7 separate regions of the Homo sapiens genome follow, and regions 1, 3, 4, 5, 6 and 7 are each linked to region 2. The links are contacts of gene promoters, found by promoter capture Hi-C in blood cells and fetal thymus (Javierre and others, 2016). All regions are on one chromosome and are shown on one strand. Each heading gives the region's core, a stretch centred on a gene start or on the middle of the fragment in contact. The rest is flanking DNA. Distances are from core to core; before and after follow the strand shown.

Region 1 (3,516 bases), core at 344-2,843, 5.4 Mb after region 2:
TTAAGAGGCTGGTGAGGTCTGATTTATTAGCTTAGCATTATGAAATTACTTTTAAGTGGCCTATAATTCAAACTTTTTATCATTTCCAAATGATTCACATCCTGATTTACTCTGAATCTGTGGCACTTTTACTATTTTAATAGCCATCATTTAGGTGATTAGCAGTAGCCCTTAACAACCCTATTTCATTCACATCCCAGCCAGCTAATATCCTGGCCAAAACAAAACAACCCAAGCTGATTAGGAGAGTGGTCAGATTTAATTTCATGTAGCTTTGGTATCTTCGTGTAGCTTTGGTATCAATTCTGGTGTAAACAACCAACTAAATGGTGTAAACAACCAACTAACCACAATACTTTGAAATAAACATCAGAATTCCAACAATATTTTAACTTACCAAGGATAATAAGCTTAGAAAGTTTGGAGTGCTCACACAATAAATTTAAGACCGATTTGAAGATTCCTACAGATACCAAACTCCCTTCATCCACAACCAGAACTCTAACCGAAGAAAATTTCCATGGTTTGTTTGTGGTCATCATTGTTTGAGTCCATGAATAGAAGCTATAATTGACCTACAAGCAAAGTATGGCATTCCTAAAGTCAGGTTATAAAATCTACAAAACCAAAAATTAATAGCAAGTTATTTTGGGGCAAAACTCGTAAATTGGCAGGGGTGGGTGGGAAGTAAAGAAACACAAAAGTTATAGGGTTGAATATGCAGAACAGACAGACCAAATAAATCTAAAAACAAACAAACAAAAAATCAGATTGTTCCAAAATCTCAACACTTCCCTCATCGTTCTTAAACACAGAAAGCTCCCTATTCTTTTCCATTCCCAAATAAACCTTCTCGTGGCCATCTGAGATATGCCACTGAAGCTCTTCCCTTCTCCCAACCATAGTACTCCATTCTGGAATAAAAGCAGCGCTTTCTCAACCGAATTATGAAAATACTACTTTTTCTTTCAAGTACTCCAAACTTCCTCACCTCAAAACTTTTTAAAAACTACCACCGCACCACCCCCAACAACAAATAAACAACAAAATTCTTTATTACAAATGTAATACTATTTATTATTTTTTAATATAGATGAGAAAAAAATTGGTTGTAAAATTACAACCAGAGAACATTCAATATTTTAGTGTATATCATCCCAAAAATGTTTCTATGTCATCAGTATGAACATTTATAGGTTGAGTATCCCTAATCTGCAAATTCAAAATCCAAAATCCTTAACTTTTTGAGCACTGACATAACACTCAAAGGAAACACTCACTGGAGCATTTCAGATTTTCAATCTGTGTTATGTACAGATTTTCTAAATGGTATCATATCACATCTTCATCTAATTTTTCTACTAAAACTAGATTCAACTGTCTATTAAGTAAAGCCTTCATATTTCCTACCCAAATGCATCAATTCCCTTCAACAAAACCCCCTATGCTCACAGTAGCCATGTCTCACAACATTCGGAATTAGCCATTTCTTTTCTCTTATTTGATATATTCAATTTATTATCTTAGAAATGCTGACATTTTCCACTGTATTTCTAGTGCTACCAGCTCAATACAGGTTCCATCTATCAGCAACTTGATGACTCCAATAGCTTTGCAGCCAGGTTCCCCCACACACAATCCCAGGATGGGATTGCCCCATAAAATACAGGACATCCAGTTAAATTTGAACTTCAAATACACAATAAATGACTTTAGTATAAGCAAGTCAATGAATTATTTGATACAAACTTATACTAAAAAATTATTCATATTTTTATCTGATAAATCTGGCAACCCTAGTCCAAGGATGATAAATGGCACTCCAGTGCTCTTTCCGTGCTCTTGCACTCTCTCCTGAGCCTAAACATAGCTTCAGAAATATTCTCTCACTCAGCATCCCAAGCAGATATTAAGATACTACCAACTAATCAGAGCTGACACATCAGATAAAACTTGGTAATGATCCCTTTCGGGTGTCCCCTTCTAATTCAATCCTTCAGATTAATCAGACATGAAGGCATAGTACAAAAAAAAGATCATAAACTGATCAGAAAACTCTTCCACTGATAAACTACACTGAACATCTCTAGGTCTCCATTCATTCATGTGATAAATAAAGGTAACAGGCAAGATATGATAAGTGGCTCATGGCTCTATGACTCTATATGATCTTCCTTAAAACTTCTTTCACTCTCTTGCTTAGGAACCTAAATGGCTCCCTAAGAGATCAAGTTCGAGTTTCATTGTTAGTGTACAGCATCTGTAATAAATGAGGAAATAATGACACCATGGAAAGAACAACAAGCTGGAAGGCCAGAAATCTCCATTTCAAGTCCCAGTTCTACACCTAACTGAGATCTTAGGCAAAATGTTTAACATCCCCACACTTCAACTGGCGTTTCTGTAAATGTGGAGATAACATCACTTTATCAAGGATGTAATGAGATAAGTCAAAATACTTTACTAACTTTAAAGCTCGAATTCACTGTCTAACCCAAGTTTAATTTCCACTATTCTGTCAGACACAGGCTTCATTCCAGTCAATGAAGTCACCTCAAAATCCTCCAGGCACACTACGATCATATTCCTCGATGCCTTTGCAAAGGCCTTTCCCCTAAGTCCAATGTCCTTCTCCTCACCTGAGTCTCCATGTTCCTTGGAGTCCAATTCAATGATTACCTTCTTCAGAAATCTTCCAACTACCATGTTTCTTTATCTAAAAAATGGCAGGTCAGGGCTAGGGCTAGAGGAACCTCTCCAACTCTTTACAAGCTTAAACTCCATGATTCTTAATTATAGCCAATACTATTTTTTTCAAGAATGTTAATTTATTTGAAATTTTTATTATGTAACTACTATTTGTCTGGCACTGTTCTAGGTGGAAGAAATAAAGACTTATTCCAGATGAGCAAAGTCCTCACTTTCATCCTACAAAATATAGGCCTTTTACTTCCATTTCCAATGTTACTCAAAATGTGGTCTATGGACTGTGACATGTTTGTAACCAGCCCCCATGAGAAACAGATATTGTACCAGGATCTAAACTAACTATATCATTACGCCTACACTCTAGTGGGACTGAATTTTTGCTGTTGTTTTTAGACAAGGTCTTACTTTGTCACCCAGGCTGGAGTGCAGTGGTCTAAACACGGCTCACTGCAGCTTCGACCTCACAGCCTCAAACAATCCTCTCACCTCTGCCTCCTGAGTAGCTGGAACTACAGGTGCATGCCACCATGCCCACCTAATTTTTTAATTGTTTGTAGAGATGGGGGTCTCACTATGTTGCCCAGGCAAGTCTCAAACTCCTGAGCTCAAGTGATCCTCCCACCTTGGCCTCCCAAAGTGCTGGGATTACAGACAGGAACCACAGCACTGAACCCAATAGGTTTTTTTTTTTTTTCCATAAGACTTACTCAAAGAAGGAAGCAGTGCACTGATTTACTTCTACCATTAGCTCCTTTCTCATGCAAACTGGTAACAATTTACAGACTGCTGCTTTGAAAAGCATTGATC
Region 2 (3,499 bases), core at 982-3,481:
TTTCCTTGTTTTATTTACTACAGCTTCCTAACTAGTTTTTCTCTGTCAGCTCACACATTCCCTAATTCAATGCTGATTGTGCCAGCAACTGAGTAAAGGGTTTAGTTTAGTTGACATTGTAGCAAGATTTCCCTGTGAAGGAAAAAAATAGGTAAATTAATATTCTGTAATAAGTTCCTTTCTCATCAAGTTCATTCCCGATGATGCTTGACCAGCACTTTCAGTAACACTACGATTCTCTACACTGCAGCCAGAGGACTTTTCAATATGCAAATCTAATCGTGCCATTCTTTTTTAAACCCTCCATGGTTTCTCAAGTACTCTTAGGATAAAACAGAAAATACTTAAGTAGCACACAGGACCCAATCTGTCATCCTTTGGTCTCATTTGAAATGTCACATCCTTTGAAAAAGTGTTCTTTGACTTTCCAAGACTAAGTTAGGTCTCTGAATGTTTCTTCTGTGGCACTTAATTATTTATGTCTTTCTCCACCATTAAATTCTAAATTCCAGGAGGGTTAGAACTTTCTGGATCCTTAGCACAATGTCAGGTAATTAGGAACTCCGTACATATTTGATGGATGAATGAACAAAGCACTACATATGCATGAACTAGTTTAAAAACAGAAACATCACAAGATTTTTTTTAAGTGGCAGCTTTTAATAAAAGTACAGTTCGTAATAGGTAGGGAAAAAGGTCAAGGATATAATTTCTACATACTAACATATACGTTGTTAGGTATATAAAATATATAAAATCAGGACTGGTGTCACTTAACTTTTTAATGTGTCTTTTCTTCGGGCACGTGGCAGGCACTTGCAGAGAAGGTAAACATTTACAGAGTACCTGTTATTTTCCAGGCATTGTTCAAAGTGCTTTCAAGAGTTCTGGTTTGACAGAACTAAAGAATTTTGATTTTTCTTCCAGCAAACAAAAGAAAACCTAGGTTCTTTTTATTACTCTATTCTAGTAAGAACAGAAAGGTTATCTTTTGCACTTTAATTAACATCGCTTAATTCCATGGCTATCAAAGATGACTCAATTCCTCCGCAGAATTACTATGTGACTATTAGAAATCTAAATGCCTCCCATGTCAATTCATCTAGTGAGAATTTCCTAATTTTAACGGGAACACAGCAGGCTTTTACGGTGATTGCTGATTGGGAAGATCTCTTTCTCCCTTACGGCGTCATTCATGTCAAGGCCCGGTCTAACAGAGGAATAAAACAGTAGAAAATTACGATATCCTCCTGTTACTTTTTTTTACTAAGGGGTAATGACCAAACAGTACTTGGATTTCTTTTAGAAAATGAGTAAAGCTTCCCCGAAAGCAGAGAACAATTGGGCAGATTTGAGAAACACAAAGGACATACGATGCTTCCCTGCTACCAGCTGGGAAAGTTATTAGAATTAGCAGAATCCTCCTGTTCCTTCCACACAAGCGATAGCCACAATAGGAACTCCAGTTTCCGTCACCCCCACTCCCTGCCCAGGTTACCTGTGGAAGCTGATGTTAATGTGCTTGTTGTAGGTAGTGGCACAGCCCGCCGCAGCGCAATTGGTCGGCATTTCCCTTTCCCACTCATTCAGCGCCCTTAGGTCTCTACTGAGGCGCTGGCTGCTAAGCTTTCTTCTGGCAGAGGCTGGACAATCGAGGCAGGCGTGCCTTAATCGTGAGAGCTTAGTCGTGAGAGCGGAGTGGGAAGAAGGGGTGTGTATGTGGGGGCGGAGGCGAAGGACGGTCAGCCTTCCCTTTCTCTTTATTAATATGGCCGACTAGAGCCCACAGAACTGGCCCTCCTGGAGCTCTAGTCGCCTTCGCTTGACTTCACCAACATGGCGGACACAACCCGTTCTTTCTCCCCGCCCCCAAGAGGGAGCGGATCTACTGCGTTTCTTTGGCAGCGGTCCTCAGAGCAATTAAAAGGAAGAGGTGTTTTCCCCTCCGATTACTATAAATTACAAGAGTTTTACAATAAAACTCTCTCAAGGCTGCAACAGCAGCTCCACCTACTTCTGCATGCACCCAACTGTACCAAGCCAGACCCTGCGGTGGGTGTGACCCTAGGACCGGAAGAGTAAACCCGAAGAAAGACGAAAGACTACAAATCCTAGTGAGTATCGAGTTGGTCTTATTATCGCGTGAACTGGGAGCCTTTGTTTCCTGCGTGTCGCAGGAAGTGACGTTTCGGGTACAGCCGCTACCAGAGTCCCTTTCTCGCGAGGCGGAAGAACCCCGATCGCTGAGGAGCAAGGGGGCGCTAGGAAAGGGAACTGGGTTGCGACGGTCCGGCGAGAGAGAGCTGGGGTGCTGGGGTGCGGGGAAGTTGGGGAGCAGAGGCCGCTTGGTGTCCGAGTAGGGTAAGACCGCACCGACCCAGTCCGTTAGGAAAGAAGGGAAACGAGGCAATTGTCGGGCGGATCCCCGGACGGAGGGCTAAGGTTGTGTGGAAGGCGCTGCTCCCCGGATGGCGACCGCAGATACTCCGGCCCCGGCCTCCAGTGGCCTCTCGCCGAAGGAAGAAGGGGAGCTTGAAGATGGGGAAATCAGTGACGACGATAATAACAGCCAGATACGGAGTCGGAGCAGCAGCAGCAGCAGCGGCGGCGGGCTGTTACCCTATCCGCGGCGAAGGCCTCCTCACTCGGCCCGGGGCGGTGGATCTGGCGGAGGCGGTGGCTCTTCCTCGTCATCGTCCTCTTCTCAGCAGCAGCTGAGGAATTTCTCACGCTCGCGGCACGCGTCTGAGCGGGGCCACCTCAGGGGACCCAGCAGCTACCGACCCAAAGAACCGTTCCGGTCTCATCCGCCTTCTGTACGGATGCCTTCGAGCTCACTGTCCGAAAGCAGTCCCCGGCCGTCTTTCTGGGAGCGGAGCCACCTCGCCTTGGACCGTTTCCGCTTTCGAGGCAGGCCTTACCGGGGTGGGAGTCGCTGGAGTCGGGGGCGAGGAGTGGGTGAGCGAGGAGGCAAGCCGGGGTGCAGACCTCCTCTGGGAGGAGGAGCAGGATCCGGGTTCAGCAGCAGTCAGAGCTGGCGAGAGCCCTCTCCACCTCGGAAGAGCTGTATCCTTAACGTGGCGGTCGGCGCTGGGTGTGTCACTAAAGTTCCCTTTAGCGTCATTACTAGGTCTGTGAGACGAGTGTAACTTTGAATCATCAGAACCGCTTATTTCTCCCTGTGTCAGTATACTTTAAGTTGTTCTTTGGTAATTCCCCATGTGTCACACTATAGCGTTATTCTTAAGACTGCTTCATTGGGTATATTAACGTGCTGTGGATTGGGTTAAGCTTATGAAATCTAAGACAGTTAAGTCTGATTTGTAATAATACCTTAGAAGCCCAAGTTTCATTAGCATTTGTATTTTTGCTGGTACAGAAACTTTGTGTTTTATATGAAGTTGACTTGGATTGTTAGAGAAAAAATATTCATAAACAGTTTAAGTAATATTGTTGCTTTATCATATTGCAGTTTGACGTTGAAAATTGTAAAGTTTTA
Region 3 (3,538 bases), core at 126-2,625, 5.5 Mb after region 2:
TAATTTTTTTGTACTTTTGGTAGAGACGGGTTTCTCCATGTTGCCCCATCCGATCTTGAACTCCTGGACTCAAGCGATCCTCCCACCTCAGCCTCCCAAAGTCCTGGGATTACAGGCATGAGCCACTGCACCTGGCTGCAGAATTTCCTTTTTAAGACAGTAGTAGTACTTTGTATGTATATACCAAATTTTGTTTATTCATCCATTGATGGACATTTGTGTTGCTTCTACCTCTTGACTACTTTGAATAGTGCTGTCATGAATATAGGTGTGCACATACCTCTTCAAGACCGTGCTTTAATTCTTTTGAATATATACCCAGAAGTGGAATTGCTGGATTGTGTGGTAGTTCTATTTTTAATTATTTAAGGAACGGCCATACTGTTTTTGATAGGGGCTACATCATTTTACATTCTCAGCAACAGTGCACAAGGGTTCACCTTTTTCTACATCCTTGCCAACACATTCCGTTCTTTTCTTTCTTTTTAAAATGAAAATAGCCATCAAATGAGTGTGAGGTGGTATGTCCTTTTGGTTTTGATTTGCATTTCTCTAATGATTTAATGATGTTGCACATTTTAAAAGTATGCGTGTGGGGCATTTATACATTTTCCTTGGAGAAATGTTATTCAAGTCCTTTGCCCAATTAATTTTTTAAAAGCAATTTTAGGTTCATAGCAAAATTTAGCAGAAAGAACAGAGTTCTTATATACCCTTTCTGCTTTTCCCCAAGCCTCTTGCACTAATAACGTTCTGTACCAGAGTGGTATGTTTGTTACAATCAGTGAACCTAGACTGGACACCTCATTATCACCCAAGACCAAGGTTTACGTTAAGGTTCGCTCTTAGTGTTGTATATTCTATGAGTTTGACAAATGTTTAATGACATGTATCCACCATGATAGTATCATACAGAATAGTTTCACTGCCTTCCTCTGTGCTCTGCCTGTTCATCCCTCCCTTCCTGCTGATCTTCTATTGTCTCCATAGTTTTGTCTTTTCCCAAATGCTGTATAGTTGGAATTATCATGTAACCTTTCAAATTGGCCTTTTTCACTTATAATATGCGTTTAAGGTTTTCTACATGTCTTTGCATGGCTTGATAGCTCATTTTTCTTTAGTGCTGAATACTATTCCATTGTTTGGATGCATTACAGTTTATTCATTCACCTACTGAAGGAAATCTTGCCTGCTTCCAAGTTTTGTCAATAAAGCTGCTTTGTAAACATCCATGTGCAGGTTTTTGTGTGGACATAAGTTTTCAACTCATTTGGGTAAATACCAAGCAGCACAATTGCCGTGTTGTATAGTAAGAGAATGTTTAGTTTCATAAGACATCACCAAGCTGTCTTACAAAGTGGCTGTACTATTTTGCACTTCCACCAGCAATGAATGAGAGTTCTTGTTGGTTCCACATACTCGTCAGCATTTGATGATATCAGTGTTTTAGATTTTGACCATTTAATAGGTGTGTAGTGGCATCTCCTTGTTGCTTTAACTTGTAATTCTCTAATGACTTATAATGTTGAGCATCTTTTCATATACTTATTTGCCATTTGTGTTTCTTCTTCCTTTTTCTTTTTCTTTTTCTTTTTTTTTTTTTTTTTTTTGAGACAAAGTATCACTCTGTCTCTCAGACTGGAGTGCAGTGGTACAGTCACAACTCACTGCAGCCTCAATGTCCCAGGCTCAAGTGATCCTCCCATCTCGGCCTCCTGAGTAGCTGGAACTACAGGCACATGCCACCATGCCTAGCTAATTTTTTATATTTTTAGAAGAGACAGGTTTCGTCATGTTAGTCAGGCTGGTCTCAAACTCGTGGGCTCAAGTGATCCACCCACCTTGGCCTCCGAAAGTGCCGGGATTACAGGCATAAGCCACTGTGCCCAGCCAATCAAATGAGAAAAGGGCAGTCTCTTCAACAAATGGTGTTGGGAAAATTGAATATCCACATTCAAAAGAATGAAATTAGATGCTTACCTTAAACTGTATACAAAAATTACCTCAAAAAAGATCGAAGTCCTAAATGTAAGACCTAAAACTATAAAACTCTTAGATAAAAACATAGGAGGACATTGGATTTGGCAATGGATTTCTTGGGCGTGACACCAAAAACAGGCAACAGAAGTAAAAATAGATGGATGACATCAAAATTTAAAACTTCTGTGTATCAAAGAACACATTCAACAGAGTGAAAAGGCCCATAAAATGGGTGAAAATATTTGCAAATGATATATCCTGTAAGAGGCTAATATCCAGAATACATAAGGAAATCCTACCATTCAATAACAAAAAACAACCTGATTTTAAAGTGAAGAAGTCAAGAAAATAAGATAGACTACATACTGGGAGAAAATATTTGCAAAAGATATATCTAATAAAGGACTGTTATCCAAAATATACAAAAGAACTCTAAACGATAAGAAGACAAATAGCCTGAATAAAATACAGCAAAAGACTTGAACACATACCCCACTAAAGAAGATTCACAAGGTTGGGTGCAGTGGTTCACGCCTGTAATCCTAACACTTTTGGAGGCCAAGGTGGGAGAATCACTTGAGCCTGGGAGGTCGAGGCTGCAGCAAGCTGTGATTGTGCCACTGCACTCCAGCCTAGGCAACAGAGGGAGACCGTGTCTGAAAAAAAAAAAAAAAAGGATCATATATACCAGGATTTATTATTGGAGCTCTGTTGTATTCCATTGGTCTGTATGTCTCTGTCTTTATGTTAGTACCACACTGTTTTGATTACTGTGGCTTTGTAATAAGTTTTGAAATCAGGAATGTGAGATCTCCAACTTTGTTGTTTTTTTTAGATATTGTTTTGGCAATTTGGGGTCCCCTGACATTCCATATACATTTTAGAATGGATTTTCTATTTCTGTGAAAGATGCCATTGGGATTTTGATAGGGATTGCATTAAATCTACCCAAAGTAGGTTACTTTGGGTAGTATGAACATCGGTTTTCCAATGTATAATGATGGATGTGTTTCCATTTATTTTTGTCTTTAATTTCTTTCATCAGTGTTTTGTAGTTTTCAAATTTGTCTTCTTGGTTAGGTTTATTCCTAAGCATTTTATTCCTTTTGATGCTGTTGTAAATGGAATTGTTTTCTTAACTTTCTTTCCAACCTTCTCATTGTTAGTGTATAAAAATGTAACTAATTTTGCATTTTAATTTTGTATCTTGAATCTTTGCTGAATTCATTTATTCTAACAGTTTATGGAATCTTTAGGGTTTTCTACATGTAAGGTCATGTTTGTGAACAGAGATAATTTTACTCCTTTCTTTCCAATATGGATGCCTTTTATTTCTTTTTCTTGCCCAATTGTTCTGGCGAGGACTTCCTGTACTATGTTGAATAGAAATGGCAAAAGCAAACGTCCTTGTCTTATTCCTGATCTTAGATGAAAAGTTTTCAGCTTTTCACCACTGAGTAAGACATTAGTGCTGGGCTTTTCATATATGGCTGTGGAGGCCAAAGTAATTCCATCTTGGTTGCTAATCTGCCTTGTTGACTTCTGACTAACCCCAGTT
Region 4 (3,695 bases), core at 255-2,754, 5.1 Mb before region 2:
CTTTACAAATGAGAAAAATGTACTTTGACCATGATAACAGTAAGCTGCAGAAGCTACATTTTCAGTTTGTCACCACAGCTTTGGATTTTTTTTTTTTTTAAGAGAGTTTTGCTCTTGTTGCCCAGGCTGGAGTGCAATCTCGGCTCACTGCAACCTCCACCTCCCGGGTTCAAGCAATTCTCCTGCCTCAGCCTCCTGAGGAGCTGGGATTATAGGCATGTGCCACCACGCATGGCTAATTTTGTATTTTTAATAGAGACAAGGTTTCTCCATGTTGGTCAGGTTGGTCTTGAACTCCGAACCTCAGGTGATCCGCCCGCCTCGGCCTCCCTAAACCCTGGGATTACAGGCGTGAGCCACCACGCCCAGCCAACTTTGGCTCTTAACCAGTATTCTACACTGCCTCTCACTGAACACCAAAAATATCCTGAAGTCTCACACAGACTCCAGCACAATTCCTTACCCAAACATGACAAACAAATGTTTAAATGACCAACTAAATGAGTGGATGATTTAATTCATTAAAAAGTAAGATTATCTTACCTAAAATACCTCTAAAAAGGCGTTTATCTAATTGTATAATCCTCTAAGAAAGGTTTTAACAGTGGGCAGTTTGCATACTAATAAGAGATTTAAGCAATGCTCATTTCTTTACCCACAAATAATTCATCTGCTTAACAAATACTAAAGTGAAAAACTGTTTTTGTGTGAGAGTATTAAATTGGAAGATAAAAAGTGAAATGAAATTTGTTCCTGCAAGATCCTATTCCACTAAATTAAAACCCACATAAGTTTTAAATCAGTCACCAAAACCAAAATAAATGTGTAACACTTCCCTTTCTTCTGGTAGAGAAAAAAGAAGTAACATTAACTGAGCACCTACAATGTGCCAGTTCTTGACCCTCAACATATAGCCTCACTTAATCCCTTACAGCCAAGTAAACTAGGCAGCATCTCCATTTTCTTTTCTTTTCTTTTTTTTTTTTTTTTGAGACATAATCTTGCTCTGTCACCCAGGATGGAGTACAGCTGCTCGATCATGGCTCACTGCAGCCTCAACCTTCCAGGCTCAAGCAATCCTCCCACCTCAGCATCCGATTAGCTGGGACTACAGGCGTGTACCACCATGCTCAGCTAATTTTTGTATTTTCTGTAGACACAGAGTTTTGCCATGTTGCCCAGGATGGTCTCGAACTCCTGGGCTCAAGTGATTCTCTCACCTCGGCTTCCCAAAGTGCTGGGACTACAGGTGTGAGCCTCCGAGCCCAGCCAGGATCTCCATTTTCTGATTACAACTGAAGCTTAAAGAAATTAAGCACTTGTCTCAGGTCACTTAGCTAGTTACCGAATTTCCAGAATTAGAATCCAAGTCTGTCTGACCCAAAGTCTATGTTCTCTCCAAAAAGAGGTTAAAAGTACTATTATTTCATTACTTACCAAGACAGAGAATGGGTTTCTTCCCAAAGGAGACTGAAAACACTGCTTATTTTAACAACAAAAACATATTATCTCAGTTAATCCTCGCTATAGCTTATTAACTATTATTTTTATCCATTATAAATGATGAAACTAGAACTCAGAGACGTATTCATAGCTTGCCCAAGAACACACTGCTAGGAGGCAGCAGAACTACCCCAGGTCTGCACCAGCTGCACACACTAACCACAGAAAATGCAGAAAGACCTCAGCCATGTAGTACAAGCTTAAGGTCCATCCAAAGTATTAAAATAATCAGACCTTGTGCTTCTTGGGTAAAAAGGAACGGTATATATTATGTATGCCAATTCCCACTATCAATGATGAGGAGGTTGACTTTCTAGTAATATCCTATCTATCGAATGGCAACCTGAAGATCGGTAGCTAAATTTCAAGCCTATACTGGCCATTCTACTACACCAAATAATCTGGATTTGTTGCCAGTTAAAATTATTCTTAAAGTAGCAAACAACAGTACTATATTACAAAGCAAAGGTTTATGAAGAACAGTATGCTAAAATACGTAAGATAGGCCTGGCATGGTGGCTCATGCCTGTAATCCCAGCACTTTAAGTAGCTAAGGTGAGAGGACCACTTGAGTTCAAGAGTTCAAGACCAGCCTAGACAACATAGGGAGACCTCTTCTTCTACAAATAATAAAAAAATCAGCCGGGTATGGTGGCGCGAGCCTGTGGTCACAGCTACTCAGGAGGCTGAGGGGAGAGGATCACTTGAGCCCTGGAGGTAGAGGCTGCAGTGAGCTGTCATCGTGTCAGTGCACTCCTGCCTGGGGGACAGGGAGAAACCCCGTCTCAAAAAAATAAACTGGATAAACACTTAAGTGTTTGAAATACTTTCACGAATACTTTCACAGGAACAGATGAATAGAAATCACTTAGCAACATTTTCAAGGCAACATCTGAAAACTACTTTGTCTATTTCCTGACGTATGTTAGGGCCTAAGTGAACCAAAAGAGATGTCTACAATGCCAGTTCTGAAAATGTTACCACTTTGGTCAGACAAGTGTTTAGTCTTACTGTATAGTTCTGTTTATCAGAAACCCAGAGTAGCCTTTTCTACTGAGACTGGCACAGGTATATATTCCGAAGGAACTGTCCCATGTGTTTTTGATAAACCAAAGTGACGAATGAGAGGGTGGTTGAGTGTTAACATGCAACATAAAAGGATGGTTGTCATTATTCACTTTTTAACAAAAACTAGTGGCATGGTACAAACCCAAATCCAGAAAAAAACAGAATCACTCCATTGCAAAGTAACCAGGTAGAGACTTCCATGTTTGTTCATCCTACAACACGACTGTCATCTTTTAACCTCATGAAAACTACCCGAGTTCTTCAGCAAACTGTGCCGCTGCCGCATACAGACATCACTGTGGATCACTAAAAATCAGAATGCATCAAGAATTGCTTCCAAGCCTTAACTAGCACTAGCTCAGCTACAAACTCGGAGGTAAACAAGCACAGACTGACTGACTGTGGAGCGGGGCACTGTTTACTTACATGGGAAGACACTCATGTTGTGATGGGAAACGTGTTGCACTGTCCACCCCTAGCTCCTAGAAAAACGGTACTTTGACAAGCTAATGTGAGTGTAAGTCTATTCCCAAAAGTTTTTACCTCTCTTCTTAATCGCTTAAGGACAAATGCTCAAAAAAGGACGCCCGACACAAGGTGCCCGAGGTGCTACCCATGGCATTACCTGGAAGGACATCACTATGCCCATGAAACTGTCCCCTCACAGTGGACTAAAAGGAAGCAATAGATACCGTCATTCACCCTGGCGAAGGAAAAAGAAATCAAAACCAGACGCGCTTCCACCTGGCCCCAAGAGGCTTGGAGCAAGACTAGGGTCTAAGCTGCGGTTCAAAAACCACACCAGGCCCCTCCGCCTCTGCTCTCAAACGCAGCGCGGCGACACAGCAGAACCATCAACACCTCCACCTCTGTCCTCCAGGCACAGCCAGGGACTGCGTCCCAGAGCCCGCCCCGGTCGGGCCCGCCCCGCTATCTCCTCCCCCGTTATCCGCTCGCAGCCGCGCTCAGGCCTGGATTCGCCTCCCCACCCTCCCCAACTTCGGCACGTCCCACTACCCCACACACGTCGGCCGCCGCCCTCGGCGAGTCCGGGGAAGAAAGGCTGGAGGGCCGCAGGGCAAGGAATCCACTCAGCACGGTTCCTCACCTCTGGGTGGAGAAGG
Region 5 (3,673 bases), core at 1,147-3,646, 5.1 Mb before region 2:
TTTGTCCAATGTTCTTTTTGTTCCAGGATCCCATCCAGGATACTACCTTACATGTCGTTATCATGGCTCCCTAGGCTACTCTTGGCTGTGACACTTCTCAGACTTCCCTTGTTTTTGATGACCTTGACAGTTTTGAGAATAACTAGTCAGGTATTTTGTAGTATGACCCTCAACTGGGATTTCTTTGACGTTTTTCTCATTACTAGACTCAAGTTATGTATTTTAAAGGGCAACTATTGTTTTTAATCTAACCTTATTTTTTTTTTCGGATTTCTTTCAACACTCCTTTACAATCTTTATTTCCCCAAATGTTTATGTATTTTTATATAGTCTATAATCATAGTACTCACACCCTTAATATTCTTTCCTTTTACATTTCTTTATGCCATTACACATAGTTTTTGTAAGTATTCCTTTCAACCACAGTTAGTCACTCTGCATATACCAATATATACCACTGCATATACCAATATATCAAAATGTTCTGAAACATTTCCCAGTTGCTGAACATTTTTAGGTTATTCTTACATGTCCTAACTGAACTGAGATTGTGTATTTTAGGCTTTCCTCTTCTCTGTCTTCCCCTAACATTCTCTTCACCATTAGACTTTAAGCTATGACAGGGTGGGAATCCTATCTTAATCATTTGTGTATGTCCAGTGCTTAGGACAGAGCCTAGCACAAATAATACTGGTCTCCTTAAATGAAATGAAAGAATAAATGGATGGATTCTTCCTCACTACTGAAAAATATTTTCTTTAACTCATTTAATATTTCTTCATTTTAACTGGGGTAAACTCCTAGAGACGGATTCTTAAAGAGTATGAATATTTTTATGGTTCTTGACATGGTATCTAAATTGTTTTGCAAAAGAATTATAATCCAAACAGCAATACATGATTAACTATTTCTCCATAAACTCACTGGCACTGGGTGTTATTTTTAAATTCTCCACTATTTAAAGAGTAAGAAAGACTTGCTGGGCACGGTGGCTCATGCCTATAATCCCAGCACTTTGGGAGGCCAAGGCAGGCGGATCACCTGAGGTCGGGAGCTTGAGACCAGCCTGACCAACATGGAGAAAACCCCGTCTCTACTAAAAATACAAAATTAGCTGGGCGTGGTGGTGCATGTCTGTAATCCCAGCCACTCGACAGGCTGAGGCAGGAGAATCGCTTGAACCCGGGAGGCAGAGGTTGCAGTGAACAGAGATCATGCCACTGCACTCCAGCCTGGACAACAAGAGCGAAACTCTGCTCAAAAAAAAAAAAAAAAAAAAAAAAAATTGCGATTCCAACTTAAATATATTTTCCTATCCTAGTTCATCTTTTGGGAATTACCTGTTCATATCTTTTGGTCATTTTATTGTACTTGACTCCTGAAATCTGCTTAATATATTTGTATTACACTTTTATATATAGATTAATCTTTTTCATACTGATCTAAAGACTTCCATGTTTAGAACTGTTCATTTATGCTTTCAATATAATTCAGAGATTATACCCTTTATAGTCACATGTATTAATCTTTTCCTTGTGCTTTTTTGGTTTTCATTTTTATATTTCAATACTGCTACAATTATTAGTGCTATTCATGAAATATTTTCAGTTCTCTTCTCAGGTACAAAGTTGAACTGTACACCCTTGGCCCTTTGAAAGATAAGTGTGTCCAAGTGATTGACCATGTGATCTTAACCAATGGAATATGAATAAAAAGGATCTGTTGCTTTCAGAGAACAAGTTTAAGAGCCAACATGCAATTCCCCAGTCTCTCTTTCCATCTGCCAAGGAGACTGGCAATCTTCTAGAGAGTAGAGATAATCACTGGATAGAAAACCTACTATCCCACCCACAATGTATGTGTAGCATAACTACTAACATTTTTTTAAGGGACAGGGTCTCACTATGTTGCCCAGGCTAGAGTACAGTGGCTATGCACAGACGTGATCATCACCACTACAGCCTGGAACTCCTGGGCTCAAGCAATCCTCCTGTCTCAGCCTCCTGAGTAGTTGGTAGTACAGGTGCACACAACCACACTCAGCTAAGCCACTGAAATTTAGGGTTGTTACTGCAGCAAAACATAGCTTATCCGGACTAATATGATTCTGAGAGTTGTTTAGTTTGGTAAGTAGTGTGTAAATGGATCTATATAAATCATTTTCATTGTATTTTGGAGCTGGTTATAACTAGTATATGGTTTTACTACTAATGTTCACAGATTTATCTTATATCCAGCCACAATGTTAAAATATCATCTCTGATTTTAGATACCTTTGAATACTGTAAGAATACCATCAACTCTCCTGCGCGCGCACACACACACAAGAGACAGAGAGAGAGAGAGAGAGAGAGAGGGAGAGACAGAGTGTGTGTTTTCACTCTATGGCCGATGGCATTGGCAAAAACATCAAATGCAATATTGGAAAAGTAAAATGAGAATACTTCCTTATTTCCTATTATTTTTCCTCCATTTTTTAATAGTCAATGTATTTAGTGTTTCTTCATCATAAAGCTGTTCAATCATCCTTATTCAAATATATTCCAGGGAATGCATAACACTGTATATGGATAAAAATGCCCACTTGATTGGGCATAAAAATGCCAACAGGCTGTTACATTATAGAATATGGCCAATTTAATATTTCATTGGAGATTCTCGATTTCATCCTGTAAAGATTATGACCAGTATTATTTTTATGTATCTCCTAGTTGATGATAATATTATGAAAGTGACCTTCACTCTTCCCCTTGACCTCCCTTCTCTACCACAGGCCAACTGTTCTTATCAGCAGCCCACACTCAAGTCGTGGTGACATTTCCATTAGGGCCCAAAAAACTAGGGCAGACATAAAACGACTCTGGAAAATTTCAAGGAAGAAGTACCTTCAAGTATTTTAAGTTGTTTTATTTTGGTTTTTTAAATGTTTGCATCAAGTGCACATGTAAATTATCTAAATGTAATTACCAAAATGTAATTTGAATGGCAAAGATACGTAACTGAAAATCCTAAGAAGTATTGTAAACTATCTCTTAGGAGAAGTGCAAAAACCCCATCTTCGACTGAGAATAAGTAAAGACATTTAGGCATCTAGTTCAGCAGGCAACGGAGATCAATCAGGGAGTTTTGAGGAAGGAAGTAACAGAATTAGATATGCAATTTTAGAAGATCATCTAAAGATTTTTTTTTCCTTTCCACCATCCCCAAAATTTATACTTCCACCTTTCCTGTGCTATTTACTAGAAGGCATTTCTAACTATCAAAATGTCCAAGCTAGAAAAATTCAGCTGGGTGCAGTGGTGCATACCTATAATCCCCACAACTCATGAGGCTGATGGGGAAGGACCACATGCGGCCAGGAGTTTGAGACCAGCCTGAGGAACATAGTGAGACTGTCTCTAAAAATAAAAATTAAAAAGGCCAGGCACAGTGACTCATGCCTGTAATCCCAGCACTTTGGGAGGCCGAGGCGGGTGGACTGCTTGAGTTCAGGAGTTCAAGACCAGTGTGACCAACATGGTAAAACCCCATCTCTACTAAAATACAAAAATTAGCCAGGCATGGTGGCAGGTGCCTGCCATCCCAGCTACTCAGGGGGCTGAGGCAGGAGATTCACTTCAACCCAGATCGTGCCACTGCACTACAGCCTGGACGACAGAGCAAGACTCTGTCT
Region 6 (3,369 bases), core at 238-2,737, 5.5 Mb after region 2:
CTTTGTTATTATCTTATCACTCTGATCTTTTAAAGAACCATTTTGCTCAAATTATGTGCATTAGTAACTTTTTTCAAAATTATAGTTGGGAGAACCCAACTTTAAGTCATGTATGTTGAGATATTTGTGAAAATTAAAACCCAAACTACCACTTATGAAAATTCAGTTTAGAATATGACCAGAATAAGGGGATAAGCCTCAAGTTATCTGTCTAAAAAATTATTTTGCCTCTTCTCATCCAGTATGACTAGATTCTAACCTAAAAATTTACTTCAGAACATTCCAAAGTAATATTAAGAATACTTGGGTGGGTGCAGTGGCTCATGCCTGTAATCCCAGCACTCTGGAAGGCTGACGTGGGCAGATTGCTGGAGTCCGAGAGTCTGAGACCAGCCTGGGCAACATAGTGAGACCCCACCTCTACAAAAAAATACAGAAATTAGCTGGGCATGGTGGTGTGCACCTATAGTCCCAGCTACTTGGGAGGCTGAGGTGGGAGGATCACTGTAACGGGGTTGCGGGGTGGAGGCTGCAGTGAGCTGAGATCACGTGACTAAACTCCAGCCTGAGTGACAGAGTGAGACCCCATCTCAGACAAACAAAAAAAGAATACTTGTAGTCAAATACGAGTGGGAAAAGCTATTGATTAGATTAAAATGCTTTAAACTAAAAAGTTTATGAATTCTGATAATGAGTTTGTGTTAAAATGAAAAGCTGATGACTTTGAAAGTTTCAGTAATAGGAAAGATTATTCATTTAAATCTTAAGCTCTTTTGTTTGCAAGATTGTCAATTCTAACTCAAGTTATTGCAAATAACAAGGAGTTTAAGGATGTAAGAGCTTGAGAACCCACCAACCCAAATCCTCTTCAAGAAGATGAACTGGAGAACTGGAGGAAGATTCCAGAAATGATGATATCATAGGAAATTCAGTGACAAATGTTTGTGTTCCCCTCTCCCTTGTTCTATTACATCTCTTCTCTACCTCAGTTGTCCTTATACATTGTTTTCCCTTTTTCTATCTTTAATTTTTATATGACCCATTGTTTGCCCCCAGAGTCATTTAACTTTAGCTCCCACTGCCATTGCTTCAATCTCTGAGTTCAGATTCCTGAGTCAGAAAGAATCTGGTCCAGGCGTGGTGGCTCACGCCTGTGTGATCCCCGCACTTTGGGAGGCCGGGGCAGGCATGTTGCTTGAGTTCAGGAGTTCGAGACCAGCCCGGGCAACATAGTGAGACCTTGTCTCTGCAAAAAATACAAAAATTAGCCAGATGTTATGGCACGTGCTTGTAGTCCCACTACTTGGGAGGCTGAGGCAGGAGGATCACTTAAACCGGGAGGTGGAGGTTGCAGTGAGCTGAGATTGCGCCACTGCCCTCCAGCCTCAGTGACAGAGTGAGACCCTGTCTTAAAAAGAAAGGGGGGTGGGAGGGAGGAAGAAAGGAAAAGGAAGGAAGGAAGGAAGAAAGGAGAGAGAAAGAATCTGATTGGTACACTTGGTTGTTGGCACAGGTCACATTGTAGGCTGTTAGTCAATATATGGGTTGCCAGGCCTTGGGTAAGAGCCAACTCCTGGCCTAGTCAGCTATGTCTCAGGAAAGAGGAAGTATAAAAAAAAAGACGGCCATATAGAATTCCTCTTCGCATCTACATGTAGCCTCCTCTCAGAAAGACTGATTTCTGTGTGGGAAGAGGGTGTGGTTCAACTTTTGCCCAGCAGGGAGAGGTCCCACTAGAAAAGTATCAACCAAATGCTTATAGGCAAGATAATCACTGATTGTTAAATCTATTCATCATGCCCATAGCTAAAAATGGTTTAACAAATAAGTATGTACAATACATTTCCTTAAATTACTCAGGGACCTTTAACGTTAGGAGTTTTTTGGTCCTGATCCACCAAGATAAGAAAGGAGGTGAATCTTATCTTGCCCTAGTAGGAGTGTGTGTGTGTGTGTATGCATGCACATAGACAGACAGACAGATAGATAGATAGTCCTCAACTTAGAATCATTCACCTTAATGTTTTCCACTTTTATGATGGTGTCAAAGCAATATGCAACCACGAAATTTCAGACTTTAAGCATTGGTGATTCTTTAACCAAAGACACTCTGAGCTACATTTTTTACTTACGATATTTTCAACTTACAGTGGGGTGTATTGGCATGTAACCCCATTGTAACTCGAGGAGCATGTGTGTATATGTTTTAAAGGGACATTATCATGTTTTCCTAGTCTTATCTTAACTCTTATTTATACCATCCTGTTTCCTTAGATACTTGAATGTGTATGGGATTTCTTTCCTAAAATCTTGTCATAAATAGCAAGAATATAGTATAATCATGTTGCCCTGCCCCCCCCAAAAAAATTTCTTTCTTTCTTTTTTTTTTTTTTTTTTTTGAGACAGGGTCTCTCTCTGTCACCCAGGCTGGAGTGCAGTGGCACGAACTTGGCTCACTGCAACCTCTGCCTCCTGGGCTTAAGCGATCCTCCCACCTCCCAGCCTCCCAAGTAGCTGGGACTACAGGCGCATGTCACCATCCTTGGCTAATTTTTTTGTGTTTTTCGTAGAGAGGGGGTTTTGCTGTGTCACCCAGGCTGGTCTCAAACTCCTGGACTCAAGCAATCCACCTGCCTCGGCCTCCCAGAGTACTGGGATTACACGTCTGAGCCACCATGCCCAGCCCAGAAAAAAATTTCTATCATCTTTTGCTACCATTTTTGCTGGCACTACTAAAAGCATTAAAATGTGACAGCAGTTCCATTGCCTCCACATCTATGTACAATTTCTAATACCATTTTTGCTCTGGTGCTGATGGTTTCCTGATATCAGGTAGGGTGGAGTACAGGGATGCTTCTACCAGGAGTGTGATTATACAGCCACTGCCTTTATTTCTGGCTTTGCCTTTGTGATATGGTCTATCAGATGATTGATAAAATCTATCTAGAGTAAGGATATAAGACAAAATAAAGATACTGTAATTAAGGGGAAAGGGAGGCTAGAGGACATGGCTCAGTATCCCCAAGTCTTTTATTTAGGATATGGGTTCAGCTACTTCTGACTTGACTTAAACAGTGACAAAATAACAATGGCTTAAACAAGATAGTTTATTTCTCTTCATGTAAAAATTTGAATGACAATTTAGTGAAGGTGACAAGGGCCCACGCTTCTGCTAAGGTCCAGGCATTCCTAGAGTGGTATATGATAGATCATATGGTATAAGATAGATCACTTCCATAGCCACAGAGTATCCAGTTATTAATACAAACAAATGAGAAGAGGAAGGGGAGAGCAAGTCTTTCTTTGTTTTTAGAGCACAATCCAGAAGTTGAATTCCTATCTTAGTCACATTAAATTGGCTAGAGTATC
Region 7 (3,698 bases), core at 689-3,188, 5.4 Mb after region 2:
ACCTTAATTACAATTCAATTTACTTTACATTATTATGTATGTTTTTACCCATGCTAAAACATTTGTAGGGCTAAATTCATGCCTTTATATTTCTGTTTCAGCATATGAGTTTGTAAGTTGTAGGAGAGTATGTTCGTTAAAAAGTACTACCTTGGCCAGGTGCAGTGGTTCATGCCTGTAATCCCAGCTACTAAGGAGGCTGTGGCAGGAGAATCACTTGGAGGTGGAGGTTGCAGTGAGCTGAGATCGTGCCACTGCACTCCTATCTGGGTGACAGAGTGACACTCCATCTCAAAAAATAAAAATAAAAACAAAAGAACTGCCTCCCAATGAGCACGGTGGCTCACACTAGTAATTCCAGAGTTGTGGGAGGCCGAGGTGGGAGGATTGCTTGAGGCCAGCAGTTTGAGACCAGCCTAAGCAACAAAGAGAGACCCCATCACCACACACACACACACACACACACACACACACACACACACAATAATAAGCTGGGCATGGCGGTGCAAACCTATAGTCCCAGCTACTTTGGAGGCTGAGGCAACAGGATCGTTTGGGGACAGAAGTTCAAGGCTTCAGTGAGCTACGATTGTGCCATTGCACTCCAGCCCGGGTGACATAGTGAGACCCTAACCCAAAAAATAAATGAAAGAAAAGAAAAGAAAAGAAAAGAAAAAGGAAAAAGAAAAAGAAAAAGAATTGCTTTCCTAAATACATTTTCTGGAAGCTCCTTTCCTAACAAACATGCCATGGTTGAGGTGAGCACTAAAACAAAAATGCATCAACTCTGCTACCACAGAGAGATGGAGCTGGGGATCAGTTTCTAGCTGATCATGTTGGTCTTTGTTAGGCATTTTATGAAAACTATTTATCTCATCCTATATGATAAGTATAACTTTTTAAAAAGCAAACATTTGCAAAGTATTACTAAGAAGTAGATGACTACAATTCATTTATTCAGTCAATACATATTTTAGGATAGTTACTGTTCTGGGTACTGGAGAATAACAGTAAACAAAACAGACCAAGTCCTTGTACATCCTAAGAAGGAGCAAGGATCCATCCTAAGAAGGAGCAAGGATCCATCCTAAGAAGGAGCCAGGGAGCAAGTAAAAGTAATATCAAATGATGATGAGAACCAGAAGCAAAGATAAAAGAGAGAAAGGGGATAGAGAGTGCTATGGTTTGAATATTTGTCTCTTGCAAAATTCATGTTGAGGGCCAGGCGGCATGGCTCACGCTTGTAATCCCAGCACTTTGAGAGGCTGAGATGGGCAGATCACTTGAGATCAGGAGTTCCAGATCAGCCTGGCCAACATGGTGAAACCCCATCTCTACTAAAAATACAAAAAGTTAGCCAGGCGTGGTGGCACACACCTATAATCCCAGCTATGGAGAGGCTGAAGCTCGAGAATTGCTTGAACCCAGGAGGCGGAAGTTGCAGTGAGGCAAGATAGCGCCACTGCACTCTAGCGTGGGTGACAGAACAACACTCTATCTCAAGAAAAAAAAAATTCATGTTGAAACTTAATCCCCAATGTGGCAGCACTGAGAGGTGAGGAGGGTCATGAGGTATATTCATTTCATATCATTTAAGAGGTGATTGGGTCATGAGGTATCTTCCCTCGTGAATAGATTAATCCACTCATGGATTAATGGGTCAATGGATTAATGGGTTATCATGGGAGTGGGACTGGTGGACCTTGAGAGCTTGTTTGGAGGTTCTAGCAGGGGAGCGCAGTTGCCCGTATACCCTTGACCGAAGACCAGTCCTCTTCTATCAGGGATGGTAATCCTCTTTCACCGAGCACAGCTTTGGGAGGGACACACATGGAGTGGTGAGGGAGGAAGGGGACAACCGCCTAGCTGGCCAGATCAGCCAAGTCAACTCGGGCTATCAATGGGGTGGCAGATGTCACAGACAGATCACCCTCACATCCAGGACTGGTAGCTTTATGAGAAGAAGAGAGACCTGAACTAACATGTTCAGTCCCCTCACCATGTGATGCCGCCTGTTGCTCCACCAGCAAGAAGGCTTTCACCAGATATGTTCTCTCTACCTCAGACTTTCCAGCCTCCATAACTCTAAGTTATAAACAAATTCCTTTTCTTTATAAATTATCCAGTTTTAAGTATTCTGTTACAAGCAGCAAAAAATGAACTAACACAGAGCATGACTGTAGTGAGGTTTTGCTATTTCAGATAGAATGATGGATTGAAACCAAGGTAGAGATATTAAAAATTGACAATGAGATATTGTGTTGTATGGGCTATGGAATGAATTATTGAATAGAAGGAATGCAAATCAGGGAACATGTGAAAAGTGCTATGCTTATGCAATCTATAATCATCAATAGATGAAGACTGACTTTCTGGAATAGAAATATATTTGAGCATTCCACAGAGTCACTCTTGTTGCAAAAGATAAACTACATTCAGATCAGCAGGTCTGTTTTCCTGATTTATTTTAAATGGCTGGAAATTTCCTCCATTTGTGACAAGATTTCATATACAACATCCACTTCTGGCCAAGAAGGGAGAAAATCATCCTGCATTGGAGAAAAGTGAGATATGAAGAACTAGGTTGGAATAATGATGAGCAAAAAGGGAAAGAATGACTGAAAGGGAGACAGGAAGGAGAATGTGGAAAGATAATGTGATGAAGATATGGACAGCAGATGCAGGGGAGTTTCAAAAGAGTTGGAAAATTCTCCTTTAAAAAACAAAGCCATAATGCAGTAATAACTCGTGTTACACAATGCAGAATTCATTAAAGAATGCAAAATCTCTGAGATTTTATTTTTGATGTAAGAAAACATAGGCTGTGAGTGGTGGCTCATGCTGTAATCCCAGCACTTTGGGAGGCCAAGGCGGGTGGATCACCTGAGGTTAGGAGTCTGAGACCAGCCTGGCCAACATGGTGAAACCCATTCTCTACTAAAAATACAAAAAATTAGCCGGGCGTGGTGGCAGGCACCTATAATCCCAGCTGCTCGGGAGGCTGAGGCAGGAGAATTGTTTGAATCTGGGAGGCTGACGTTGCAGTTAGCGGAGATGGTGCCACTGCACTCCAGCCTACGTGACAGAGCAAGACTCTGTTTTTGTTTTTGTTTTTTTTCTGAAAACAAACAAACAAAAAAACCCCAGAATTTGGAGAGTACAAAGACAATGCTTTCACACTCAGAAAACAGAACAATTTTATATATTTAACTTCCTCCCTTAATTATAAACAACAACAATTATAATGGCTAATACTGAGTGTTTACATTGTGCTTTCCACACATCACAAAGTCCTCTCCTTCAATTAACTCATTTACTCTTCACAAAAGCCTCATGAAATAGTTAACATTAAAGCATCTATCTTACTTATGAGGAAACTTCTGCTGAGAGGTTAGATAACTTGCTTAAAGTTGGGAGTGGCTGAACCATGACTTGAACCTAAGAAGTCAGGCTCCAGTGACCGTGCTCTTTGCTGCTACATGTTCAGGCACAGCTCTGTGTTCTAAATATCTCTGCATGCACCCAGGAACCAACCTGGGGCTGTGAGGAGGCATACACTGCAGCATAGTATCAATCTCCTTGATTTGTTGCCTCTCTTTTGTTTGAGATTTGTAAAACAGATACACACTTCTCTGGGACCTTAGGGTAAAACCACAACAGTTGCAAAGTTACCACAACCTCTTGTCATCTCTAAGTGA

The links. Contacts are between HindIII fragments. The CHiCAGO score rates a contact against its expected background, and 5 or more counts as called.
Region 1: a fragment that was not itself captured here is called in contact with the fragment with the promoter of ZFC3H1 in region 2 in 4 of 17 cell types (activated CD4 T cells, non-activated CD4 T cells, total CD8 T cells and 1 more); the score reaches 11.7 in activated CD4 T cells.
Region 3: a contact is called between a fragment that was not itself captured here and the fragment with the promoter of ZFC3H1 in region 2, in 9 of 17 cell types (naive CD8 T cells, total CD8 T cells, total CD4 T cells and 6 more). The highest score is 28.2, in naive CD8 T cells.
Region 4: a fragment that was not itself captured here is called in contact with the fragment with the promoter of ZFC3H1 in region 2 in 5 of 17 cell types (naive CD8 T cells, non-activated CD4 T cells, total CD8 T cells and 2 more); the score reaches 8.4 in naive CD8 T cells.
Region 5: a contact is called between a fragment that was not itself captured here and the fragment with the promoter of ZFC3H1 in region 2, in 2 of 17 cell types (neutrophils and total CD4 T cells). The highest score is 5.5, in neutrophils.
Region 6: a contact is called between a fragment that was not itself captured here and the fragment with the promoter of ZFC3H1 in region 2, in 2 of 17 cell types (total CD4 T cells and activated CD4 T cells). The highest score is 7.7, in total CD4 T cells.
Region 7: a fragment that was not itself captured here is called in contact with the fragment with the promoter of ZFC3H1 in region 2 in 6 of 17 cell types (total CD4 T cells, naive CD8 T cells, activated CD4 T cells and 3 more); the score reaches 18.0 in total CD4 T cells.

The regions. Positions count from the first base shown.
Region 1 is chr12:66,311,045-66,314,560 of GRCh38, reverse strand. It overlaps HELB (DNA helicase B), which reads right to left. Exons shown (of 13, transcript NM_001370285.1): 5 at 398-575. Among named protein-coding and RNA genes, the nearest start is that of HELB, 10 kb to the right of the region's middle. The HindIII fragment of the contact is 2,362 bases long and covers 413-2,774 here.
Region 2 is chr12:71,662,580-71,666,078 of GRCh38, reverse strand. It overlaps ZFC3H1 (zinc finger C3H1-type containing), which reads left to right and starts at 2,231. Exons shown (of 35, transcript NM_144982.5): 1 at 2,231-3,066. The coding sequence starts at 2,469. THAP2 (THAP domain containing 2) reads right to left here and starts at 1,778. Exons shown (of 3, transcript NM_031435.4): 1 at 1,499-1,778. The coding sequence starts at 1,569. RefSeq lists enhancers at 1,769-2,128, 1,578-2,136, 2,489-2,608. The HindIII fragment of the contact is 1,665 bases long and covers 1,629-3,293 here.
Region 3 is chr12:66,164,537-66,168,074 of GRCh38, reverse strand. The region is part of intron 1 of TMBIM4 (transmembrane BAX inhibitor motif containing 4); the gene reads left to right. Among named protein-coding and RNA genes, the nearest start is that of TMBIM4, 3.7 kb to the left of the region's middle. The HindIII fragment of the contact is 5,192 bases long and covers 1-3,538 here.
Region 4 is chr12:76,764,314-76,768,008 of GRCh38, reverse strand. It overlaps ZDHHC17 (zDHHC palmitoyltransferase 17), which reads right to left. Exons shown (of 17, transcript NM_015336.4): 1 at 3,680-3,695. Among named protein-coding and RNA genes, the nearest start is that of ZDHHC17, 2.0 kb to the right of the region's middle. RefSeq lists enhancers at 3,547-3,695, 2,888-3,695. The HindIII fragment of the contact is 401 bases long and covers 1,304-1,704 here.
Region 5 is chr12:76,786,301-76,789,973 of GRCh38, reverse strand. All of the region lies in intron 1 of ZDHHC17 (zDHHC palmitoyltransferase 17), which reads right to left. Among named protein-coding and RNA genes, the nearest start is that of ZDHHC17, 24 kb to the right of the region's middle. The HindIII fragment of the contact is 5,143 bases long and covers 1-3,673 here.
Region 6 is chr12:66,148,475-66,151,843 of GRCh38, reverse strand. All of the region lies in intron 3 of TMBIM4 (transmembrane BAX inhibitor motif containing 4), which reads left to right. Among named protein-coding and RNA genes, the nearest start is that of LLPH-DT, 19 kb to the right of the region's middle. The HindIII fragment of the contact is 6,497 bases long and covers 1-3,369 here.
Region 7 is chr12:66,290,925-66,294,622 of GRCh38, reverse strand. It overlaps the pseudogene RN7SKP166. Among named protein-coding and RNA genes, the nearest start is that of HELB, 9.7 kb to the left of the region's middle. The HindIII fragment of the contact is 9,012 bases long and covers 1-3,698 here.